Regions from separate parts of the Homo sapiens genome. Here all the other regions are linked to region 1. The links are contacts of gene promoters, found by promoter capture Hi-C in blood cells and fetal thymus (Javierre and others, 2016). All regions are on one chromosome and are shown on one strand. The core of a region is centred on a gene start or on the middle of the fragment in contact, and the rest is flanking DNA. Distances in the headings are between cores, read along the strand shown. Region 1 holds the start of TRHR (thyrotropin releasing hormone receptor). Region 2 overlaps LOC101927413 (a long non-coding RNA gene). Region 3 overlaps LOC101927413 (a long non-coding RNA gene). Region 4 overlaps NUDCD1 (NudC domain containing 1).

The links. The method cuts DNA at HindIII sites, captures the fragments that hold promoters and counts their contacts. A CHiCAGO score of 5 or more calls a contact.
Region 2: a contact is called between a fragment that was not itself captured here and the fragment with the promoter of TRHR in region 1, in 2 of 17 cell types (megakaryocytes and endothelial precursors). The highest score is 6.3, in megakaryocytes.
Region 3: a contact is called between a fragment that was not itself captured here and the fragment with the promoter of TRHR in region 1, in 2 of 17 cell types (endothelial precursors and megakaryocytes). The highest score is 6.7, in endothelial precursors.
Region 4: a fragment that was not itself captured here is called in contact with the fragment with the promoter of TRHR in region 1 in 1 of 17 cell types (endothelial precursors); the score reaches 5.1 in endothelial precursors.

Annotation. Positions count from the first base shown.
Region 1 is chr8:109,085,304-109,088,006 of GRCh38, forward strand. It overlaps TRHR (thyrotropin releasing hormone receptor), which reads left to right and starts at 1,282. Exons shown (of 3, transcript NM_003301.7): 1 at 1,282-1,580; 2 at 2,122-2,703. The coding sequence starts at 2,210. The HindIII fragment of the contact is 732 bases long and covers 985-1,716 here.
Region 2 is chr8:108,908,040-108,910,773 of GRCh38, forward strand. All of the region lies in intron 3 of LOC101927413 (a long non-coding RNA gene), which reads right to left. Among named protein-coding and RNA genes, the nearest start is that of TMEM74, 120 kb to the left of the region's middle. The HindIII fragment of the contact is 1,649 bases long and covers 528-2,176 here.
Region 3 is chr8:108,928,159-108,930,858 of GRCh38, forward strand. All of the region lies in intron 1 of LOC101927413 (a long non-coding RNA gene), which reads right to left. Among named protein-coding and RNA genes, the nearest start is that of TMEM74, 140 kb to the left of the region's middle. The HindIII fragment of the contact is 191 bases long and covers 1,290-1,480 here.
Region 4 is chr8:109,282,139-109,284,838 of GRCh38, forward strand. The region is part of intron 5 of NUDCD1 (NudC domain containing 1); the gene reads right to left. Among named protein-coding and RNA genes, the nearest start is that of NUDCD1, 51 kb to the right of the region's middle. The HindIII fragment of the contact is 522 bases long and covers 1,020-1,541 here.

The DNA.
Region 1 (2,703 bases), core at 32-2,531:
GGTCTATTCTTAATCCACCAGTTACCTTACAGGAAATTTAGCTAAGGGTATTTTTCATTGTCAGTTAATAAAATAAAAGTGGAGAAGCATCAGCATTTGATGTATTCAGTTGGTATCTTGAGAAAAGATACATGTTTTCTGAGCTTCCATTAAAAAAATAGATTTAAGACAAGGCATAGTGCCTCACACCTGTAATCCCAGCACTTTGGAAGGCTGAGGTAGGTGGGTCACTTGAGCCCAGAAGTTCAAGACCAGCCTGTGCAAAATAACAAGACCCCATCTCTACAAAAAAATACAAAACTTAGCTGAGCGTGGTGGTGTGCACCTGTAGTCTCCGCTACACAAGAGGCTGAGGTAGGAGGATCACTTGAGCCCAGGAGGTCGAGGCTGCAGTGAGCTGTGATCATGCCACTGCACTCCAGTCTGGGTGACAGAGTGAGATCCTGTCTCAAAGTTAAAAAAAAAAAAACAAACTGTAGATTTGCCCACTGGCTACTTTAGAGAAATAATAATGCTGAAGTGTACTTTTCTTCAAAAGATGTGTCTATTAATTTTCATTTCAGAGGTTTGGTAACAGAATGGCACTGGTATAGATTTTTACTAGATGATTTTTCCACCTAGAAATAAACTGAGACAAAACATTGCTAGGTGGTTCATGTGACTGGAAATCCAGAGGACAGGTGAAGGTGAAAAGCACCCAGGGCCGATAGAGAGATTCTATAAAGTGGTCCAGAAATAAGAGTTGAAAAACTTAACAGACCCTACGCAGTTTAAATTGATGTTCTTAGCTCAAAGAGGCCTTTTAAAAATAATTGTTATAAGCATCAGAAGATTGCAGCTGAAATGGTTTGAAATCAACTTTAACTAATTTTCCATTCACAAAATATGAGAGGAGGAAGCCAATTGTACTGATTCACTTGAGAAACAGTACAAGGGTTTTCATAGTAGAGAAAGAGGTTGATTTCAGCTCAGACAGATATTTCAAGCTTCAAGGGCCATGTCTAGACTGAGAAGGATTTGCTAACCCCAAAGTCCTATCAAGCAAGGAGTGTAAATGTATTTCAGAGCAGCTCAGGTACTAGAGTTTCTGCAGAACTTAGATGATAAGCAACGACAAAGCCAGCTGCTTCTAGACCCCTGGCTTATGATTTCAGCTTTCCAAATTAAAGACTGTCTCATCAGCACATTTAATAGTAAATCCTCCAAGAGCAGAAGACTCTGAATCAGTGAGGACTGACTGGCATCTGTGAGTGTGTGTGAATGTATGTGTGTGTGTGTGTGTGTGTCTCTGTGTGTGAGAGAGCGAGCGAGCGTGTATGTTCTCATTAGGGGACGATCTATGATTTGACAGCCTCACTGCTGCTGCTCCTGCTGCTGCTTCTGCTTCTGCCGCGGCTGTATGGTTTGTCATTAGTTGGAAAGGGCTGTGAGGGTTTGGAGAAACTGCAGTTTTAAAGACTGAGCACTGCTAAGTGGTCTCCCTCTCAAATAGAGTAGACAAGATTTTCTGCAAGATTAGAAACTTGGAACTATTACCACTTCATCTACCCAGAAAATCAGGCAGCGCTACAGAGGATAAGGTAAGAGAAGAAATTGTCCTCTCTTGAATCTGTGGGGCAGGGGGCATGGGGAAATGTCATCTCAAAGGCTTGCTATTTTATACCAAAGACATCTCACCCTCTGAGAGCAAAAGAGGCAACAGCTAAATTTGTAACAAGCTTGATTATTGAGCTTCTTGGCTTTTTCCTCTGGTATCTTTTTCTTCTTTATTATACTTTTGCCAGGCATCTAAGAGGTGTATTCATATTTATTTTTCAGTTAGCAGATATTTAGTTTTTTTCAACTGGGCACTGTTTCAAAACAATTAGTTTTTACTGTTTCTCTTTCCTTAAGCATTTTTCTCCATTAAGAGGGAACTGGTCCCTCTTAATGTGAGCTGGTCAAAACAGTTACTCCATTCTACACTAGAGATGCAATAAAAGAAGTTTTAAGAAGTACACATGAGCCCTATTCCCATAGAAAAATGGGAAGTGAAAGGAGTGGAAGTGACGGTTATTTGTGATTGGGACTTGATCAGAAATTGTAACACTGTTAATGAATATGTACTATGACCCTTCACAGGGGGATGGAACTGCTGCAATAAAGGTGGGCGCTGGAAAGAAGATGTTTTGAGAAGTCAGTGTTTCCGAGAAACTTTAAGCTTCTAAAGATGGAAAACGAGACAGTCAGTGAACTGAACCAAACACAGCTTCAGCCACGAGCAGTGGTGGCCTTAGAATACCAGGTGGTCACCATCTTACTTGTACTCATTATTTGTGGCCTGGGCATTGTAGGCAACATCATGGTAGTCCTGGTTGTCATGAGAACCAAGCACATGAGGACCCCCACAAACTGCTACCTGGTGAGCCTGGCAGTAGCTGATCTCATGGTCTTGGTGGCCGCAGGCCTCCCCAACATAACAGACAGTATCTACGGTTCCTGGGTCTATGGCTATGTTGGATGCCTCTGCATTACTTACCTCCAGTATTTGGGAATTAATGCATCCTCTTGTTCAATAACAGCCTTTACCATTGAGAGGTACATAGCAATCTGTCACCCCATCAAAGCCCAGTTTCTCTGCACATTTTCCAGAGCCAAAAAGATTATCATCTTTGTCTGGGCTTTCACATCTCTTTACTGTATGCTCTGGTTCTTCTTGCTGGA
Region 2 (2,734 bases), core at 102-2,601, 180 kb before region 1:
GATAAACATTAAAGTAAAATAAAATGAGGGCTGGCATGAATTAATGATAACAGTTTGCAATAACTCTGATTAGTTTATTGTATATTCAAAGTCCCCCAAACACAACAATAAAAAAATAAGCTGGGAGCAATGGCTCACGCCTGTAATCCTGATGCTTTGGGAGGCCGAGGTGGGAGGATGGCTGGAGCCCAGGAAGTTGAGACTAGTGATATAGCCTAGAGAGAGCTTGTCTCTAAAAAAAAAAAAAAAAATTAAAAAAACACAGAATACTAGATATAGAAAATAAAATAGTGCACATATTGTTTACAAAAAACAAATTTATAAGCATCTGCTAGAAATTTCAGAGGAGGGAGATCCTCTAAGTTTTCCAGTGAGCAAGGAAGGATGAGTAGAAATTACAGGACTTCTATAGTACCCATTATTACTCATTTGAGACTTAGGAGAGATCATTGATAACAAATTTATTTAGTGTGTCAAGTTTATTGTCCTATTTTAGTTAACTTAAATGTTGATGAAGACTTTTCTTAAGCTTCATTCTAACTTTTACTCCTGTCCATATTTTTCACCATAAGATTTGATTACCTCAACAGACATATACAATGGGTGTTTGGAGAAAGCTAAACTCCAAGATTTGGGATGTATACTTATATTACTGTTTTTTTCCCCCCAATTAACTTTGCCTGGTCCCTTCTTGTGTTGAGTGCAGGATCTCCCAAGTGTGTTACTGTTAACCTTTTGAGCTGGATAACTCTTTCCTATTGGGGGAATGTCCTGTGTATTTTAGGATTTTAGCAGCATACCTGATCTCTACTCAACAGGTACCAGTATGACAACCAAAACTGTCTTCAGATATTGCCAGATGTCTTCTGAGAGTTTATCAGAAAGCTAAAGTAAAGGTTAAGTAATTCTTAAGAAGTTGATCAGATTTACTGTATATTCTTCCATAAACTGCCTACTCTCTGCAGAGACTCAGTGCATATCGAATCCCATAAAAAACAATGTATAAGAATATTCAAATAACAGAAATGTATGTCATGAGTTTCTGTAGGGACACTTGAAAAAATACTTTAATATTTAGATAGTTAGGTCAAATCAGATGAAATTTTGATATTGAACCAACATGGCAGTTTCATATTGTTCCACCTAATATTTATCAAAAGCTGCTATTGTGTTGTTTATTTCCCCTGTTAGAACTTAGTTTCCCTGAGCATTCATTGCAATATCTTTTACTTCTAATACAGTGTCTAACACAGTGCGTGCACTCTGTAAACATGGATCATAAATGCTAATTAACACATACGAACACAATTATACATTTAACTAGAATAGTTATAGGAATATATAAGACATTATTTAATGGCAGAAAACATCTTTTGCTGTAGTGACTTGAAAAAATTTTGACCTCCTCAAGATGTTCATTACATAATTTTAGTCATCTCATGCATTTCTTCATCTGATAGTTCTAATATGAGCTTCAGAGTGGGACATTTCAAAGTTTGAATTCCAGCAGCATTGTATGCCAGCTGTCTGGCCTGGTCTGTAAATAAATATGACAATACTTACATCAATGGATTATTGTGATGATTAAATGTCACAACATATACAAAACACCCAGCGCAGTGTTAGCTCAGGTCTGGTATTCAATGAATGTTAGGTAATTTTTGTTTTCGTTTTTGTTTTTTTCCCTAGGTACCCATTCCTATTGATTAAAGTTCTTAGGATTTGCCTCTTTTTGGGTTTCTTTTTGTTTCTGACATTTTTCTTCAACTTGGATAATATTTTTCAGCTGAGGATTTATTCAAGCAAAGTAGGAATTCAGGGGCTGTACTATGCCTATTTCATTTCTCAAGCTAAAAATAAATTTCCATTAACTATACATATAGATGTGTATTTACTTGAATTCTGTACTTGGTTGATGAACAGAATTTTATGATTTGCTTATTATTAGAATTTAACCTAATGACCTCCCACTACAGTCATACTTCTTAAGGTATTTAACGTTGAAATGCAGTTTATTTAATCTTTGCGCATAGGAAGAATAATTATATTGTAATTGCACAATTGTTAAAAGATATCAAGTGCATTTATGCATTTTCCATTTAAGTTAAATTATACACTAAGCATAATAGCTTAAAAAATACTTCTTTTTTACTTAAAATGTTTTTCCTTCTAAGAAAGCTTACAAATTAAATCTCACAAAGATAACCTGATATCTTAAAAAGATCACACACGTTGTACGCAGAGCAAATGTCATCGTTCCAGAATTTTATTTTTTAAAGGGAGCATTTAGTTAATACAAATCAATTTGCAAAAGTGTTTCATTCCCTTTTTGGTTCCAAAATGAATTGAATTCTCCCTTATTATTTGATTCTAATTTATTAGCAGTTTCAATATCTGCTCCTACAAAAATGCCACCCTTTTGCAACCAGAAATACTTTCCAAGAATATAGGACAACTAAATCAGTTTAATAATATATTTCATATAGCAAGCAAAAAACCCTTCAAAAGTTGATTTTAAAACATCATAATACAAAAGAATAAAAAAATAGTTAATACCAAGAGTTTAAAAATCACACCAAAACCTACCTTCTTTGCAAAAAGGTCTCCAGATACCGACTCTACTTGCTTTGTCTTGCTCTGCAACTCTAGGAGATAATCCTGGCTTATTAAATGCACTCAACTCTAATAATGCACACTTCGGGGATAGATGTAAAACAAAAGGAAGAGTACATTT
Region 3 (2,700 bases), core at 135-2,634, 160 kb before region 1:
CATTCCTCAGAAGAGCCTTCAAGATATGAGATGGGAATATTGTGTCTATGAAAGAATGTAGAATTCATACAGACATTACATATTTAAATAAGGCTGTAACATAGTAAGCAGCAGAGTCAGGAATCTAACCTGTGTTTGTCTGAACTCGAGACCCACTCTCCCTTATATTGTACTACCCATGGAACCTCCATGTAAAGGCACTCCTACTTGCATTAAATCTGTTGACTTTAAGGAAAGGTTGGCAATATCCTTGCTTCCTACTGTCTCATTCAAAGCCATTAGATTTTTACATTGGTTCCACCATGCCTACTTCGAAGACCACATATTAACTTTGTTTGTTTGTTTGTTTTTCAGACAGAGTCTCGCTCTTTTGCCCAGGCTAAAGTGCAGTGGTGATATCTCGGCTCAGATCCTGGGTTCAAGTGATTCTCCTTCCTCAGCCTCCCCAGTAGCTGGGATTATAGGCACCCACTACCAAACCTCGCTAATTTTTGTGTTTTTAGTAGACATGGGGTTTCACCATGTTAGCCAGGCTGGTCTTGAACTCCTGACGTCAAGTGATCTGCCCACCTCGGCGTCCCAAAATGCTAGGATTACAGGTGTGAGCCACCATACTCGGACTTAACTTTTAAAAGTCATAATTCCACCAATTTCCAGGTGCCTACCCAGTATGCATAAATTATTTATGCCAGAACCACAGTTCTCTTTTCTACTTCATAATCTTCTAGATGCTTAAGTAACTTCATTCTTCAAATGGACAACCATTTGTATACTATGGACTCATAAGGCTTTTACCTTCTCTTCATTCCACTTTAGCAATGAATCCACAGTTATGTCCTAAACAATGTCATCACTTTTCATCCATTTTTCACATCTGATATCTTGAAACTTGAAATGTGTCTCTCTGACTATAATTTTCTTCCACATTTTCTTACTTCTAAGCAATAGCATTATACTTCTAATATTTCCATATCTCATTATTCTCTCAAATTATTGAGGCTTTGCTTTCCTCCTTATCCAGGCTGGAATACATGGTTCACTGATTTATCTTTATTTCACAAGCCTCTAGGATTTTGTTACACCTCCATAGTTTATTTTAATCACTTTGTCAATTTCTACACCTAGACAAATCAGCTGCCCATTTTCTCTAGGCCTTTTGTTAAGCTGTGGAATTGTGCCAAATAACATCATATAATTTTCATGATTGGATCCATTACCAATGAATGAAATCCAAATACTGACAAGCCTTTAATATTGCTTTATAAATCCATTTATTCAATCTGACTTAAAGCTTCATTGAGCACTTCTCAAGCTGTCTCCTGCAAGATATTAGTATGTGTTCCTCTATATAGAAGCTCTAAAGTAAAATAATTTGGAAATGCTACATATTATATCTAATTCTTATAGATTCACAATTTTCATTTGCATATTCAAGGCTCTGAGAACTACTACAGCAAACATAAAACTTCACATAACATAAAGCTTCAATAATTTATTTGACTTTGAAATCCTTTATTCATTTATTAATTTGTAGGAATCATAACATCTCAGTCAATACATTTTAGGAAATGCCGTACTATACAAAGGGTGAGGTCCTTGTCTGGTTAGTTCACCACTGTATTCTCAACAGTTAGAAAGATGCCCATCTCAGAGTAGGCTCTCACACAGATACAAATATTGGATGAATAAATAAATGAAATAACTAAAGCAGTTTCTGTGACTTTTTCCTGATCTTTTCAATTTTATTAACCACACTACTGCACCCTCATTATCAAGTGAAGCTGGACATGACTTTGTTTTCCTATCACCTCAACATCTTTTCAAAACTTTGAATATTTTTTCATAATTCCCATCTCAGAAATATGTTTGAGTTTTCATGCTTAGTAATAAATATAGATGCTTAGGAGACATAGCTAGATGTCAATCTCTTTCAGATATTTCATTTAATCTCTTAATCCTGTAAAATAAGTAAAATATTCTCTTTTATGTAGGTGATAAAATTAAAACTCATACACACCACAGTTAGAATTTAAACCCAGAGCTGTTGATCTCCAAGGCATAGCTTCTTTCCCAGCCCCATTGTTAACCCCCACTTTCCAAAGATAATAGTCTCATTTTGTTAGATTCCATACTAGGTACAGCTTATGTAACAACTAGATCTACTAGTCCTTGAGCCCCACATGAGATTATAGCCCCGGCTAATACCTTAATTTCAGCCTGGTGAAACCCTGTGCAGAAAACTCAACTAATATATTCCTAAACTTTTTGCTTCCCAAGACTGTGAGATAATAAAAGGGCATTGTCTTAAGATGCTAAGTTTGGGGGAGGAGCCAAGATGGCCGAATAGGAACAGCTCCGGTCTACAGCTCCCAGCGTGACCGATGCAGAAGATGGGTGATTTCTGCATTTCCATCTGAGGTACCGGGTTCACCTCACTAGGGAGTGCCAGACGGTGGGTGCAGAACAGTGGGTGCAGCACACCGTGGGCCAACCGAAGCAGGGTGAGGCATTGCCTCACTTGGGAAGTGCAAGGGGTCAGGGAGTTCCCTTTCCTGGTCAAGGAAAGGGGTGACAGACGGCACCTGGAAAATCGGGCCACTCCCACCCGCATACTGCGCTTTTCCAACGGGCTTAGGAAACAGCACACCAGGAGATTATATCCCGCACATGGTTTGGAGGGTCCTACACCCACGGAGTCTC
Region 4 (2,700 bases), core at 31-2,530, 200 kb after region 1:
AGGCAGATCTGCCCAGTCTCGTCCTGCCCATCTTGGCCCCTACTCCCCGGGGCTGAGCAGGGAGCTCAGACAACTGTGCAATCCAAGAATCAGCCCATTGCCTGAGGCAATAGAGAGTTCTCCCAGTAAACAAGGATTAAGTATATACCCTGCTGCACTGGCTGCAATTGGCTGTTACTAACAAGCACCATCTACTGGCTTGTAGGTTAAACTGCATAGCCCAATATACAACCTGCCAACAGAAGTGCATAGGGCTATGGAAGCAAAGCCCAAAGACCCTACTCTGCATTCTCTATAGTCACACCCCCTAGAGAGGGAAAGAGAAAGAAAACAAACAAACAAACAAACAAAAATAATATTATAAGGAAAGAAAGAAAACTAAAAAATCCTATCTGCACAAAAATATTATAAAAATTTGAAGTGCCAGAATCTCTAGATAAGAAACCAGAAAATCAAACACCACATGTTCTCACTCATAAGTGGGAGTTGAACAATGAGAACTCATGGATACAGGGAGGGGAACATCACACACCGGGGTTGTCGGGGGGTGGGGGGCTAGGGGAGGGATAGCATTAGGAGAAATACCTAATGTAGATGGCGGGTTGATGAGTGCAGCAAATCACTATGGCACGTGTATACCTATGTAACAAACCTGCACGTTCTGCACATGTATCCCAGAACTTAAAAGTACAATAAAAAAATTCCAAAAAAAAAAAGAAACCAGTGCAAGAATTCTGGCACCATAAAAAAAATCTGAATGTAGTGACATGACAAAAAATATCACTAGCTTTCTAGAAATGGTCCTTAACCAAAATAGACACTCAGAAAAAAGACACAAAGAATTCAAAGCATGGATTGCAAGGAAGCTCAACAAGATCTAAGACAAAATTGAAAATCAATACAAAGAAACTTCTAAAGCAATCCAAGAAATGAAGGAAGAGATAAACATCTTTAAAAGAAATCAGTACAAACTTCTGGAATTGAAAAACTCACTTATGGAATTTCCAAATACAATTGAAAGCTTTATCAACAGACTGAACTGAGCAGAAGAAAGAATTCCAGAACTTGAAGGCCAGTCTTTCAAACTAGTCCAGCTAGACAAAAATAAAGAAAAAAGAATTTTAAAAAAATGAACAAAGTCTCTGAGAAATATGAAATCATGTAAAGTAACCAACCCTATTAACTACTGGCATTCCAGAGAAGAAACACTAAACAAACTGAAAAACATGTTTGAGGGAATAATTCAGAAAATTTCCCTAATCCTGCTAGAGAGGTAGACATTCAGGTATAAGAAATCCAGAACCCCTGAGAAATACTATACAAAATGAAGATCACCAAGGCATATAGCACTAGACTGTCCAAGGTCAACACTAAAGAAAAAACCTTAAAGGCACCTAAAGAAAAGAGATTACATAGGGGAACCCCATTAGGCTAACAGCAGACTTCTCAGCAGAAACCTCACAAGCCAGGAGAGATTGAGAGCTATTTGCAGAATTTTTCAAGAAATTCCACCCAAGAATTTCATATCCCACTAAACTATAAGCTTCATAAGTGAAAGAGAAACAAAATCTTTTCCAGACAAGCAAGCACTAAGACAATCAGTTACCACTATACCAGCCTTAACAAGAGATCTTTAAGGAAGTTCTAAACAGGGAAACAAAAGAACAGTATCTGCTACCACAAAAACACAAGGACAGAGCCATAGTCCCTGTAAAGCAACTATACAATAGAAACTACAAAGCAATCAGTAACAACTTCATGATAGAATCAAAACTTCACATAACAATATTAACCTTAAATGTAAATGATCAAAACATCCCACTTGAAAGGCACAGAGTAGAAAGCTGGATTAAAAAAAAAAAAAAAAAACAAAACAAAAACAAGGCCCATCGGCATTCTACAAGAGACCCATCTAACACATAATGACACCCACAGGCTCAAAGTAAAGGGCTGGAAAAAAACTTGCTATGCAAATGGAAAACAGAAAGCGCAGGAGTCACAATTCTTACCTCAGATAAAACAGACTTTAAACCAACAAAGGTAAAAAAGGACAAAGGGCATTACATAATAATAAAGGGTTCAATTCAATGAGAAGACTGAACTATCCCAAATATATATGTGCTCAACATTGGAGCACCCTGATACATAAAAACAAGTACTTCTAGACCTATGGAAAGACTTAGCCACAAGACAATAGTGGGGAACTTCAACATACCACTCACAGCATCACACAGATCATCAAGGTAGAAAACTAAAGAAAAAAAGTATGGACTTAAATTTGACACTTAATCTAACAGACATCTACAGAATACCCCACCCATCAACCACAGAATATAAATCCTACTCATCTGCACACAGAACATACTCCAAGATCACTCACACACTCAGCCATAAAGCAAGTCTCAATAAATTATAAAAAATGAAATCATACCAATCATACTCTAAGATCACAGTGGAATAAAAATAGAAATCAATACCAAGAAGATCTCTCAAAAACCACACAGTATCATGGAAATTATCTGGGATGCAGCAAAAGCAGTGTTAAGAGGAAAGTGCTATGTATCTACCTCAAAAAGTAAGAAAAGTCTCAAATTAATGATCTAATATCACACCCAGAAGAACAAGAAAAAAAAACAAATTAACACCAAAGCTAGCAAAAGAAAAGAAATAACTAAAATCAGAGCAAAACTGAATGAAATT